Linked DNA regions of Homo sapiens: all the other regions are linked to region 3. The links are contacts of gene promoters, found by promoter capture Hi-C in blood cells and fetal thymus (Javierre and others, 2016). All regions are on one chromosome and are shown on one strand. Each heading gives the region's core, a stretch centred on a gene start or on the middle of the fragment in contact. The rest is flanking DNA. Distances are from core to core; before and after follow the strand shown.

Evidence for each region. Contacts are between HindIII fragments. The CHiCAGO score rates a contact against its expected background, and 5 or more counts as called.
Region 1: a contact is called between a fragment that was not itself captured here and the fragment with the promoter of SEC23IP in region 3, in 1 of 17 cell types (activated CD4 T cells). The highest score is 6.2, in activated CD4 T cells.
Region 2: a fragment that was not itself captured here is called in contact with the fragment with the promoter of SEC23IP in region 3 in 1 of 17 cell types (neutrophils); the score reaches 5.1 in neutrophils.

The regions. Positions count from the first base shown.
Region 1 is chr10:119,655,091-119,659,022 of GRCh38, forward strand. All of the region lies in intron 1 of BAG3 (BAG cochaperone 3), which reads left to right. Among named protein-coding and RNA genes, the nearest start is that of BAG3, 5.7 kb to the left of the region's middle. The HindIII fragment of the contact is 765 bases long and covers 871-1,635 here.
Region 2 is chr10:119,745,815-119,750,320 of GRCh38, forward strand. The region is part of intron 1 of INPP5F (inositol polyphosphate-5-phosphatase F); the gene reads left to right. Among named protein-coding and RNA genes, the nearest start is that of INPP5F, 22 kb to the left of the region's middle. RefSeq lists a silencer at 2,243-2,537. The HindIII fragment of the contact is 1,948 bases long and covers 529-2,476 here.
Region 3 is chr10:119,889,720-119,894,043 of GRCh38, forward strand. SEC23IP (SEC23 interacting protein) reads left to right here and starts at 3,011. Exons shown (of 19, transcript NM_007190.4): 1 at 3,011-3,226. The coding sequence starts at 3,064. RefSeq lists enhancers at 1,726-2,237, 2,238-2,748, 2,749-3,259. The HindIII fragment of the contact is 6,362 bases long and covers 983-4,324 here.

The DNA of each region.
Region 1 (3,932 bases), core at 3-2,502, 240 kb before region 3:
GATCCCATTTTGGGGAGGAGGAGCTGCGGCTTAGTGCCTCCTGAACATCTATCCTGCAGAGCATTTTCCCAAGCCTCCATTTTCCTTCTTGGGGAAACTCCCCAGGTACGCGGGCTTCTGGAGGTGTGAATATGGGGATGACATGGGAAGCGAGCCGAGACAGCACCTTGCAAAGTCTGGCAGGGTGGCTGGCAGTGCGAGAGTGGGGAGGTGGTCCAGAGATCTTCCTGGACCCCAGGAAGAAGCAAGCCAGAGCCTTTTCTTTTTGTCTTGCCCATCTGGCAGAATCTCACCATAATCATTTAACAGATTATACTCAGGCACTGTGACAGGGAGATAGAAACATCCTTTCAGATAACACTGGAAATGTTTCGAGTTATGATTGAAGTAGAGAGACCCATTTATTTTGCTTAAGGTTCAGCAGAGCCTCCTGAATTTTCTTAAAGATGAGATCGTTTTGCTCTTTCCAGATCTATTGCAAGCTGTTATGCCTCTTAGCAGAGGCGGAGCACAATCAGGAAATGAGTGGCCGTTCTCTCCTTCGTATTTCCAGCAAGTTGCAGTTGTGGCTGAGCAAGTTCCTGTGCGACTGCATGAAAGTGATTTGTTGGGGGGCAGATGAACAGCATGGCCAGATGCCTTGGAGCCCAGCTCATCCAGGACTTTCATTTTCCCCTCTGAAGAACAGCCTGTGTTGTTCACATGAGAACCGACTGCACCTCCGAGAACATCATTTGTCCCGTTTTGTAGGGTAGATTTGCCCTTTATGAGGGTGGAGCCTGTACACAGGACCTGCGGCAGCGTTTGACGTTGGCCAGGGCTGGGAAGGCTTAACTGTTGGATGCTATCAGGGCTGCTTGTGAGTCAGAAAGCTTCATACCACCCATGAGGCTTGCTTAGTGCTGTCCTCGTTTCTGGAATGACACACAGTCACCTTATATAAACCACTCTACATGTTTATTACTTTCTATTGACATTTAAAAATGATGTTCTGATGTTTATCATCCAAAGTAGAAAACCATTCATCATCCAGACCTACTCTTTCTCCTTTAAGTTTTGCTGTTTTAATATTGCTCTTAAATGTTTAAGAGAGCTTACAGAAGAAACTGAAGACAAAGGCCTTGCTTATTAGGATCTTTGAGACCCTCTGGCACTGGCGAACACGAGTGAACCCTGTGTCACACTTGACCGTGTTATTCTCCAGCCCCTCCTGGGTTCCCTTTTGTTGTGAGTCAAGTAGACACCTCTGATCTGCTTCTGCCTCAGAGCATAGACTCAGCTGGCCTTCTTTTTTTTTTTTTTTTTTTTGAGACGGAGTCGCACTTTGTCTCCCAGGCTGGGGTGCCGTAGTGCGATCTTGGCTCACTGCAACCTCCGTCTCCTGGGTTCAAGCGATTCTCCTGCCTCAGCCTCCCAAGTAGCTAGGATTATAGGTGAGCGCCACCATGCCCATCAGCCGGCCGTCTGAGGCAGGCTCCAGAGCCCCTTGTTTTGCAGGTGCAGGATTCATCTGTATGCATCATGTGGCACATGTGATACCATGTGAGGTATCTGGTGTTACTAAGTCGTCACGTATTTCGATGAAGGTATCTTTGGGACCTTGGCAGCCTTTTAGGAAGCCAGGCAGCTTGCAAAAGCTTAGGAAGAATTTGGGGGGAGAGGAATGAATGTAGTATTTTTCTGTCTGTCAACACACACACATATATATATATATGTGCCAGATATGAGTGGGTGCTTTTGGTAACCTTATCTCTAAATCCTCACCAGCTCTTTGAACTAGAAACTATGAAGTGTCTTACACATGGGACAGCAGATTTGGAGAGGCAGTGTGCCTGGCCTGTGATAAACAGAAAGACTTCTGTGGCTTTACCCCCATCTGAGTTCCTGAAGGGGTGACAGACAGACTTGCCTTTAGCGGGCCTGGCTGCTTTATACTCCCCAGGCACGGCTGCTTTATACTCCCCAGGCACAGCTTGAGGTGATAAACAGCCCTGAGTCCATCTTTGTATAGTTAATCAGAAATGTTGGCCTGTTTCTTGAACCTGGGTCTGGATTTAGGAGATGGGCCCGACTCTTTACTCACTCCTTTACCCCATCTGAAATTCACTGAGTGCCCACAGTGTGCGAGTCACAGTGTTAAATGCCATATAGAGGACAAGTCTGCCCACTTTGAGACTGTTCTCCACAAAGCATGTCCTGCCTCTCCCTGGTCCGAAGCAGGCTGTCTCTCTTCTGGAACCCATATTATTTTAATTTGAATCTTTTTGCTTAAGCTCTGCACTTTTCTGCTTTGTCTTGGGGTCACACCCCTGTTAGGAGTTCTGGGGCAGAGTCTGTGTGCTTCATCGCTGCCTCTTGATGCCTGGCAGGGTCCACAGGCTCAGAAAAGATGGAACGAGTGACTGTGGAGAAGGGTAGAACATGGGCCTGCCCAGAGCGCGAAGGCAGATACAGAAGAGCTGCCCGTGAAGGATGCAGGTGTGTCCCGGGAAGCCTTCCATTGGTTCCTAAGAACTGCAGAGTTGTCCTGGGCTCCTAAAGGTCCCCAGAGGCCTGCTCCTTTTTGTCACTTTGTGAATGGCCTTCTCTGCACAAAGGACTTCAGTATTGATTCCCTAAGTTCATCCTTACAGGTCTGGAGAAGCTCTTTTTTGTTTCTCCCAATGACACAGCATCTTACAGCAGGGCTGGAGAGGCTGGGAGCTGGCAGCAGCCAGACCCTACTTCCATAGCTGTGCAGAGAGCAGCCCCTGGCACTGTGAAAAGAGTCTCTTAAAAATTTTTTTTCGTGTGGCTGGCAGCAAGATCAGACACCGTATACGTGAAGGTTCTTATTCACTGTCAATTCAGAAAAGCCTAGAATCGCAGAGTGCCAGCTCTGTGCGTCAGGAGCCTGTAAACAGCTCAGCTGTCCAAGAGCTCCCAGCACAGAGCTGTGCCCCAGTGAACTGGGGAGACTTTTTACGGAAAATTCCTTAGCATTCAATTGGAGAACAAACGTTTGCTGTTTTAAAGTATCTTCCTCAGTGTTTATTAAAGTAGAATTATATATTTTTTTCAGTTATTTAAAAAATTCTTCCTTGACATTGAATGAATGAATAAATGAATGGATGGTTTAAAAATTCATACAGTGGGAGGATGGGAAGGCCCCTTCATGTGCAGAAGAAAAGCCAGCCCCTTCGCTGGCCCACCCTTTCAGGGTCAGTTCAGACCCCCAGCATCCCAGCGGGGTTAGCACTCCTTCCTGGGTTGGACGGTGTCTTCCCCGGTTCTGACAGCGCTCCATGCCGGGCGTCCCTGCAGTCTTGGGGCTGTGGTGACTCAGAATTAAGCTGAGTGCTCTCACTCTCGTGTACCCTGCCTGGCTGGCCTGATGACTCAGCATGGAGCGCTGGCTCCCTGACCCAGAGCACACTTGAACTGAATGTTCCAGGTCTGAGCCTCAGCCGAGCGTGGCTGGGCGAAATGGAAGCCTTTCTCTCCTGCTGCCTCTCCTGCTGCATTTTACCCCGGGAGATGAAGGTTTTGGAGACGTTAGTGACACATGGATGTTATCACAGTGTACAGCTGTGACAGGAGTAGCAGAAAGGTTAGCATCTACCTGGCCTTACCATCAGACAAACCTGGGTTCTAGAGATCTTAGGCAAAGCACTTACCCTTCTTGAGCCTCAGTCTCCCGTTGTGTGAAGTGGGCATAGCAACACTTCTGTTAGCAGGGTTGGGAGAATCAAGGAAGATGGTGTGTGGGAGGCGAACGTCCCAAAGCCTGAACTGATGCATGCGTGGAACTCCCGGAAACATATGCAGCCTGCTCTGTGGAGTAGAAGTGTGTTTGTGGATAGGTGTGTGGCCTCTCCACACAGCAGACTGTCCTGGCTGTCCGTGGGCCTTTCAGCTCTCAGAGAGGCCTGGGGTCTTGTTTCTTAGAAGCA
Region 2 (4,506 bases), core at 253-2,752, 150 kb before region 3:
CTGCCTTAGCCTCCTGAGTAGCTGGGATTACAGGTATGCGCTACCATGCCCGGCTAGTTTTTGTATTTTTAGTAGAGATGGGGTTTCACCATGTTGGTCAGCCTGGTCTTGAACTCCTGACCTGTGATCCGCCCGCCTTGGCCTCCCAAAGTGCTGGGATTACATGTGTGAGCCACCGTGCCCGACCAGGCTCATTACTGTTTATTCAAGTTTTTCCACAGTTGGCCTTAGTTTACTTTTCTAGCATTATCAATTCATATCTCCAGTGTACCTACTGGTCTTCTGTTATTTACACTGTTTGCTTCATTATTTTTGTATCATCTTAACGTGATACAGTGTCTGGTTCCTGGCAAGTACTTGATATGTGTTTCTCCAATGATGGGACACATACCAGAACAAATCTTGTACTTTTTTGTCTGCTGTATTATTTTTCTTGCTGCTGTCCTTATGCCTGATGCGCCACTTCTTCTACATGACTCTCCGTGACTGCTTTAACTCTGTTTTTTCCTTCCTTTTCTGTATTCCTAAAGCTTATTTGGTACCCAAGGGTTAGAGTCCTACAACTGTGGTCTGTTCATCTAAGGTCAAGGTGGTAGGGTTCTGGGTAGCTGGAGCTCTTTCCTTAGCAGGGGCATCTGTGTTGGCAGATGTTGAGACATGGTCTGCCTGATACAGGGATTCTGGCTCACTATTTGGAAAGAAATCAGGGTATCTTTATTCCACTGGCATTAGGGTTAAGTAGTTAACAACTAACAGAGATGAAATCAGTAAATACGGTAACTGATACTAAGGAACAGCTTTGTAAGCCAAAAGATATAAAAATTAAAAACTGAAAATATTTGCAAACATGTCAAAGAGTTGAAGTCCTTAATGTGAAAGGAACTTGTAAGTCAATGAAAGATATAAAGAAAAATTAGGAGGCATGAACAAGAAAATCATAGAAGATGACATGACATATAAGCAGCCAAATTTTTTTTTTTTTTTTTTGAGACAGAGTCTTGCTCTGTCGCCCAGGCTGCAGTTGAGTGCAGTGATGTAATCTCAGCTCACGGCAACCTCTACTTCCCGGATTCAAGCGATTCTTGTGCCTCAGCCTCCCAAGTAGCTGGGATTATAGGCGTGTGCCAACACGTTCAGCTAATTTTTGTATTTTTAGTAGAGATGGGGTTTCTCCATGTTGGCCAGGCTGGTCTCGAACTCCTGACCTCAAGTGATCCTCCTGCCTCGGCCTTCCGAAGTGCTGGGATTATAGGCATGAGCCACCATGCCCGGCCATAAGCAGCCAATTTTATAATTAAGTGTTTAATCTTATCAGCAATAGAAAGGAAATAAACATCATGTTAGGCAATAGATGCCAGATGCCATCAAATTAGCAAAATTAGATAAATTCTAAATTTTTAACTCAAAATTATTAATTTTTTTTTTTTGAGACAGAATCTTGCTCTGTCCCCCAGGCTGGAGTGCAGTGGTATGATCTCAGTTCACTGCAGCCTCCACTCCTGGTTCAAGCAATTCTCATGCCTCAGCCTCCCAAGAAGCTGGGATTACAGGCACGCACCACCACGCCCAGCTAATTTTTTGTGTATTTTTAGTAGAGATGGGGTTTTACCATGTTGGCCAGGCTGAACTCCTGGCCTCAAGCAATCCACCCAGCTTGGCCTCCCAAAGTGTTGGGGTTACAGGCATGAGCCACTGTGCCTGGCCTTGCTTTAAAAAAAAATTTTTTTTAATTCAAAAAAGAAATTCATATGCTTCTGGCAGAAATCTAACTTGGTATGTAACCTTTGTAGCAAACAATTTGGTATTATTTGAGAAGTTTACATTTTTAAGGTTTTAACCTATTAATTTAATTCCCAGGAATCTATCCAAAAGCTATTAATTAGAGAGGCAAATATTTGCATAATATTCATCATTTATCACAGTGTTTTTTATGATGGGGGAAAAACTTCAAATCACTTAAATGTTTTCTTTGAGGAAGTACTTCCTTAAGTGGAAAATTGTGTCACCATGAAGTTATAATCTTGAAGAATATTTTAAAGAAGAAAATACTCATGAAATTTTAGAAAAACTATGTTAGAAATGTTAGAAAAAATTACTTAAAAAACTATAATGTCATGGGATCCTTAGGGTGTTGCTTTTCCACCTGGACACTTCTGTGGCCAGTGGCGATTTTGCCTGAGTTTTCCTCGGGTCCACTGGGCTTTTTCCACTGTCTTGGCTCGGCAAGCTGTGCTGGGCTTGCACTACCAGCCCGGATCCCATGCCTGCCAATGGCAAGCCAGGTGCGGAGTGGCGAGTGGTGTATGAGCGAGCGTGCACGGTCCAGACACTATGCACAGCCAGGTGTGCCAGCCGTGGCAGGGCAGGCAGCTCCAGGCACCGGTACAGGCACTGGCTTTGTGCAAGGCTGTGGCTGGACCAGGTGTACCACAAGCAGTTTCTGCTGCAGGTACTGGGGAATGCAGTGATGCCCGGAAGCTTGGAGATGCCAGGAACTGCAGAGCCCCACTGTCACAGCCCTGGCTCGGAGAGCCCCTAGGTCTGGTGTTCCCGAAGGGCCGCAGCCCTTTCCTCCTTGTTGCCCACAACCTGGTGAGCAGGGGGCGTGTTTTGGTCCTGTTTGTGTTACAGCTTTTTCAGTCCCACCATTCAGGGGTCCCGTGTCCAGGAAGAATGAGGTATGCAAGGTATGTGGACAACTGGAGGGGGAGCAAGGCAGAGAGCAGCTTCATTGAGCCCCAGAAGAGCTCTCAGGAGACCTGAAGTGGGTAGCTCCTTTTTGCAGGCAGGTCATCCAATGAGGAGACCCGAAGGGGGCAGCTCCCTCCCGCAGCTGGTGGTCTGGACATCTGTGAGTCTGGCTGAGTCCGGGATTTTTAATGGGCTCAGAATGGAGGAAGTGTGTGCTGATTGGTCCATGGGAGGCCACGGACGGCCTGGAGAAAGCACCCTGAGTTCTTACTCCAGCTCACGGACTCCACCCGGAACCTGCAGCTCAGACCCCAGGCTTCAGGTTGTCCCTGGCTTGAAGGTGGGGTTTTACCTGTGATCTGCCCCTTTCTGGACAGGAACCTGTGTCTGTCTCCCTCCACTGCCCAGGCTGTTTGGGCTGAGGGGTGCCTGCAGGCCCACTTGGAGCTGCCCTCACCCCTGCTGGCCTCTCTCCCACGCTTATCGGCACCCGAAGTCCAGAGGGGGCTGAGGCGGCAGGGAGCTGGTGTGACAGCAGTGTCCAAGCCTGTGCACACCCGACTCGGTCGTGACGGTCCCCAGGCTCGGCCACAACTTGCTCTGCACCAGAGCAGGTGCTGGGAGCAGGGAGAGAGGCCAGGGAGTGGGAGCAGGCACTTCCGAGCCTGTGGGGAAAGAGGGTCTTCCCGGGTAGCTGAGAGTACAGGAATGCCCAGGTCTGGAGCCTCTGCTGGCTGCAGCTGTGCCAGGAGCCCCGCCAACTTGGTAGGGGGCAGCGCTCCCGCTTGTTTTCTGCCCTGCTGGCTCCATGGAGGGCGCAGCCCTGGCCGCGCCTCCCCGGATGCATCCAGACAGGCTGCGGCTGCCATCAATAATGCTTATTTATTAGCGCTGCAGTTTGGTATGTATACAAACAAATGCCCTGAAATGTAGCTGAAGAAGTTGTCTCTGGGTGGTGGGATAGGTGATGATTTTTTTTCTTTGATTTTATAGTACATGTTATTTAAAAATCACTGCCTTACTGATTAGTTCCACGTATAATTTCTGAAGGGGACACTGTAACAGAAAGGTTTAGAGCAGGGGCTAAGCGTCAGGCTGACCTGGTTTTTGGTAGCAGCCTTGATCCGATCCATTGTATGACCTGACCATGTTTTACTTTTCTCAGCATTTGTTTCCTCATCTGTAAAGTGAGACTCCTTAAACTTAACTCAGAGTTGTCAAGATTAGAAATGATAATGTATTATAATAGCCTTTAAAAAATAAATTTCTTATTTTGCTTTAATTCTTGCAATAAAAACAGTATCGCACTGTTGCCTGGGCTGGAGTGCCGTGGTGCGATCTTGGCTCGCTGCAACCTTCACCTCCTAGGTTCAAGTGATTCTCCTGCCTCAGCCTCCTGAGTAGCTGGGACTACAGGCGCGTGCCACCATGCCTGGCTAATTTTTGTAGAGATGAGGTTTCACCATGTGGGCCAGCTGGTCTCGAACTCCTGACCTCAGGCGATCTACCCTCCCCAGCCTCCCAAAGTGCTGGGATTACAGGCATGAGCCACCACGTCCAGCCAAAAACAAGTCAACTTTTTTTGCCTTCCATTGAATGTATCATAACAAAGACATTCAAGATGCAATAGTCAAAACTCAAATGAATTTGGAGGCTAAACTATTAAGTGTATAATTACTCTGTGAGTTACAGATTGAGTGTAAGTTTCACTAAAATAAATTGTAAATGATAATAATGAAAATGTAATTTTAATTTTCTGCCAAGACAAATATTGTTTTCATTCTTGATAATCTTCACCTGTCGAACTACCACAAA
Region 3 (4,324 bases), core at 1,761-4,260:
AATCTATCCTTATTCTACAATTCCAAATAGACTCTTTGGCAGCAGTGACCCTCCAAAACCACCGAGGCCTAGACCTCCTCACTGCTGAGAAAGGAGGACTTTGCACCTTCTTAGGGGAAGAGTGTTGCTTTTACACTAACCAGTCAGGGATAGGATGAGGTGCCGCCTGGTGTTTACAGGAAAAGGCTTCTGAAATCAGACAACGCCTTTCAAACTCTTATATCAACCTCTGGAGTTGGGCGATATGGCATTTCCCCTTTCTAGGTCCTGTGATGGCCATCTTGCTATTATTCACCTTCGGGCCCTGTATTTTTAACCTCCTTGTCAAATTTGTTTCCTCTAGGATTGAGGCCATCAAGCTACAGATGGTCTTACAAATGGAACCCCAATGAGCTCAACTAACAACTTCTACTGAGGACCCCTGCACCAACCCGCTGGCCCTTTGACTGGCATAAAGAGTTCCCCTCTGGAGGACACTACAACTGCAGGGCTCCTTCTTCAACCCATCCAGCAGGAAGTAGCTACAGAGGTCATTGCCCAATTCCCAACAGCTCTTGGGGTGTCCTCTTTAGAGGGGGGATTGAGAGGTGAAGCCAGCTAGACTTCCTGGGTTGAGTAGGGACTTGGAGAACTTTTCTGTCTAGCTAGAGGATTGTAAATGCACCAATCAGTGCTCTGTGTCTAGCTGAAGGACTGTAAATGCACCAATCAGCACTCTGTAAAAACACACCAATCAGTGCTCTGTGTCTAGCTAGAAGATTGTAAATGCACCAATCAGCACTCTGTAAAAATGCACCAATCAACACTCTGTGTCTAGCTAAAGGATTGTAAATGCACCAATCAGCATTCTTTACAATGGACCAATCAGCGCTCTGTAAAATGGACCAAGCAGCAGGATGAGGGCAGTGACAAATAAATAAATAAAAGCTGGCCACCCGAGCCAGCAGCAGCAACCCAGTCAGGTCCCCTTCCACGCTACGGAAGCTTTGTTCTTTCGCTCTTCACAATAAATCTTGCTGCTGCTCACTCTGGGTCTGTGCCACCTTGAAGAGCTGTAACACTCACCACAAAGGTCCGCGGCTTCATTCTTGAAGTCAGTGAGGCCAAGAACCCACCGGAAGGAACCAACTCCGGACACATGACCACTGAGAACTGTCTTCTCAAGGACCTGGGGGTTTGTCTCTTGAATTGCAAGCCTTCAAGGAGGTGGTTCTCATTCTCATTCCCAGTCCCTGTGGCTACCTTGCTCTCTTACACCACTGCTTGTCATGAAGACAGAAAAATTATGTCTCCTCTGGATAAGCATGGATTAACACACCCAGATGGCCTAGTTGCAGGACGAACCAACCCTTCACACTCCTCAGCACCTTTCCCTTAGCACACCACAGCCTCTAAAAAGCCTCCAAATTTTTGTTTCAGCAAAGTTGTGTTCAGTTCATGCTGGACCCAATTCCCTAGCAATAGTTTTCATTAAATAAAATCTAATTTACTGCTTTAACGAGTGTCCCACTTAAAAAATTTTTCTTGACAGTAAGCACATGAAATCGTTATTGAATTAATAAACTTAGGTTCTATATATGTGTAAACAGCTGAGCAGAGTTTCATTATTTTGAGCGTTCTTTTGGTATCTCCTCTCCCAACCTCCAAGAAGCTGAAATATGGCTTAAGTTATATTTTCCTTCAAAATCTCTAACTATGAAAGATGACAATTATGTCCAAGTTATCCACAGTACCTCCTGGATTGAAGTAAGTCAGCTTACTGTGGATATAGAAAGCTATCTAAAATGTCAGATCTCTAATTTCAATGCCCTGGTTTCTTTTTTTTTCTTTTTTTTTTTTTTAAGGAGACAGGGTCTCGCTGCACAGTGAGTGGCAAGATCAGGGTTAATTTGGCCTCAAGCAATATTCCCGCCTCAGCCTCCTGAGTAGCTGGCAATATAGGTGCTATGCCACCAAGCCCGGCTAATTTTTGTATTTTTAGTAGAGACGGGGTTTCACCATGTTGGCCAGGTTGGTCTCAACCTTCTGGGCTCAAGCTATCCTCCCGCTCTGCCTCACAAAGTGCTGGGATTGCAGGCCTGCGCCATGGCGTCTGGTTTGATTTCTCTTTTAAATATTTTTTTTGGCCAGGCGTGGTGGTTCATGCCTATAATCCCAGCAGTTTGGGAGGCCAAGGCGGGCAGATCACGAGGTCAGGAGATTGAGACCATCCTGGCCAACCCGGTGAAACCTCGTCTTTACTAAAAATACAAAAAATTAGCCAGGCGTGGTGGCGGACGCCTGTAGTCCCAGCTACTCGGAGGCTGAGGCAGGAGAATCGCTTGAACCCGGGAGGCGGAGATTGCAATGAGCCCAGACTGCACCGCTGCACTCCAGCCTGGGCGACACAGCAGACTTGTCTCAAAACAAAAAACAAAACCAACCAAAAAAACAAAAAACAAATGCAAAACAAAAAACAACAAAAATAAAACGAAATATTTTTTTCTCCCTATGGATTAAACACTTAAAAAATGTTTTACCACTTCTATTTCTGGGTCAACCACAATGTTCGGTTCCATCCAGAAAGACAAGTGGGTTTTGGAGAGGGTGTTTGGTTCCGCCTAGCATGCGAATTCCCATTCCCGCACAACGCTCTTCCTCCCTTCCTCCTTCCGGTAGCGTCCAGCAGGATTCCGCTGTTCCTCCAAAATCTTTGTCAGGAGAGCCATCCTGACGGTACCTTTAGGAAGCCCATAGATACCCGCCACAACCTGTGACTTTCAGGGTCAATTGCGTCTCAATTCGCACGTCTATCCAGAACCTGCGGGGACCACGTCCCCATCCTCCCGCCCGGCCTCCGCCTCCGAGGGTGTCACGTGCTAGACGCGGGCGTGAAGACAGTGTCGCCATGTTGATATCTGGCGTCGCCGTGTAGGGGAAGGGAGAGGGCGGCTGACTAGCTACCCGTAATTTCGGCTCCTGTGCGCAAGTGCGGAAGTGCGCTGGCCAGGAGCGTGATCGGTTTCCGGTCAGTGGTGTGGTACCGGGTACCCGGAGACGTGTATCGGACGGTGGGCCGCAGCCATGGCCGAGAGAAAACCTAACGGTGGCAGCGGCGGCGCCTCCACTTCCTCATCGGGCACTAACTTACTTTTCTCCTCCTCGGCCACGGAGTTCAGCTTCAATGTGCCCTTCATCCCAGTCACCCAGGCCTCCGCTTCTCCGGCCTCCCTGCTCTTACCGGGAGGTAATAAGGGGAGGGCGGCCCCGTGTGTGGTGGGAGGCGGGCGGGGGACGTGCAATGACAAAGGTCAGACGGGAGTTTTTCCTTCTGCCTCGAGCTACCCTCTGGATAGCTTGCCAGGATCATTACTGGCCAGGTTTGAGTGGGTCGGGGGCTTTGGGATCTTGGAGGTGGCAGGTGATGAGACTTGCTCTTCACGGAAACCCCCTGTTCCGAGTTGTCCAGAGTGCTGGACATTCATTCGTACCCTGGCATTCCGCAAATCTTTGCTGAATACCCGTTGTTGGTACGCCAGGTGCTGGCAGGAAATGCAAATAAATTAAACAGTGGCCCTCTCCTAGGGTACAGTAGTCTGTCTCCCACTAGGAGACTCCTAGGATACGGTAAGATACCTCCTAGGATGGACTGTGCCCCTCTCCTAGGATACGGTACACTGTCTCCTACTAGGAGATTGTTGTGATACAGTACAATATCTTCTAGGTTACAGTAAGATATCTTATAAGATGGACTGTGCCCCTCTTCTAGAAGCCTGTAATATTTGTGAAGTAGACATATACAATGCATTCCTTATCTTTTTTTTTTTTTTTTTTTTTTTGAGACGGAGTCTTGCTCTGTCGCCCAGGCTGGAATGCAGTGGCGCGATCTCGGCTCACTGCAGCCTCCACCTTCCAGGTTCAAGTGATTCTCCTGCCTCAGCCTCCCGAGTAGCTGGGACTACAGGCGTCTGCCACCATGCCTGGCTAATTTTTGTATTTGTAGTAGAGACAGGGTTCCACCATGTTGGCCAGGATGGTCTCAATCTCCTGACCTCAAGTGATCCGCCTGCCCTGGCCTCCCAAAGTGCTGGGATTACAGGTTTAACCCCCCACCCATTCCTCATCTTTCAAGACAATACATCACTTCTTCCAAGAAGCTGTTTCTTGTTCTCTTAGGCCCCCACTCCTATGTGCACTCCTAGCTCTTTTTTCATATTTGTATTATTGTCCAGGGAGATTGCTTTTTGATGATTATGTAGCATTGCCCAGAGCATAGTGTTTAAGAGCACAGACTGTCTGTATTCCAGTCCTTGCCCTGCCAGTAACTTGCTGTGTGACTGTAGGC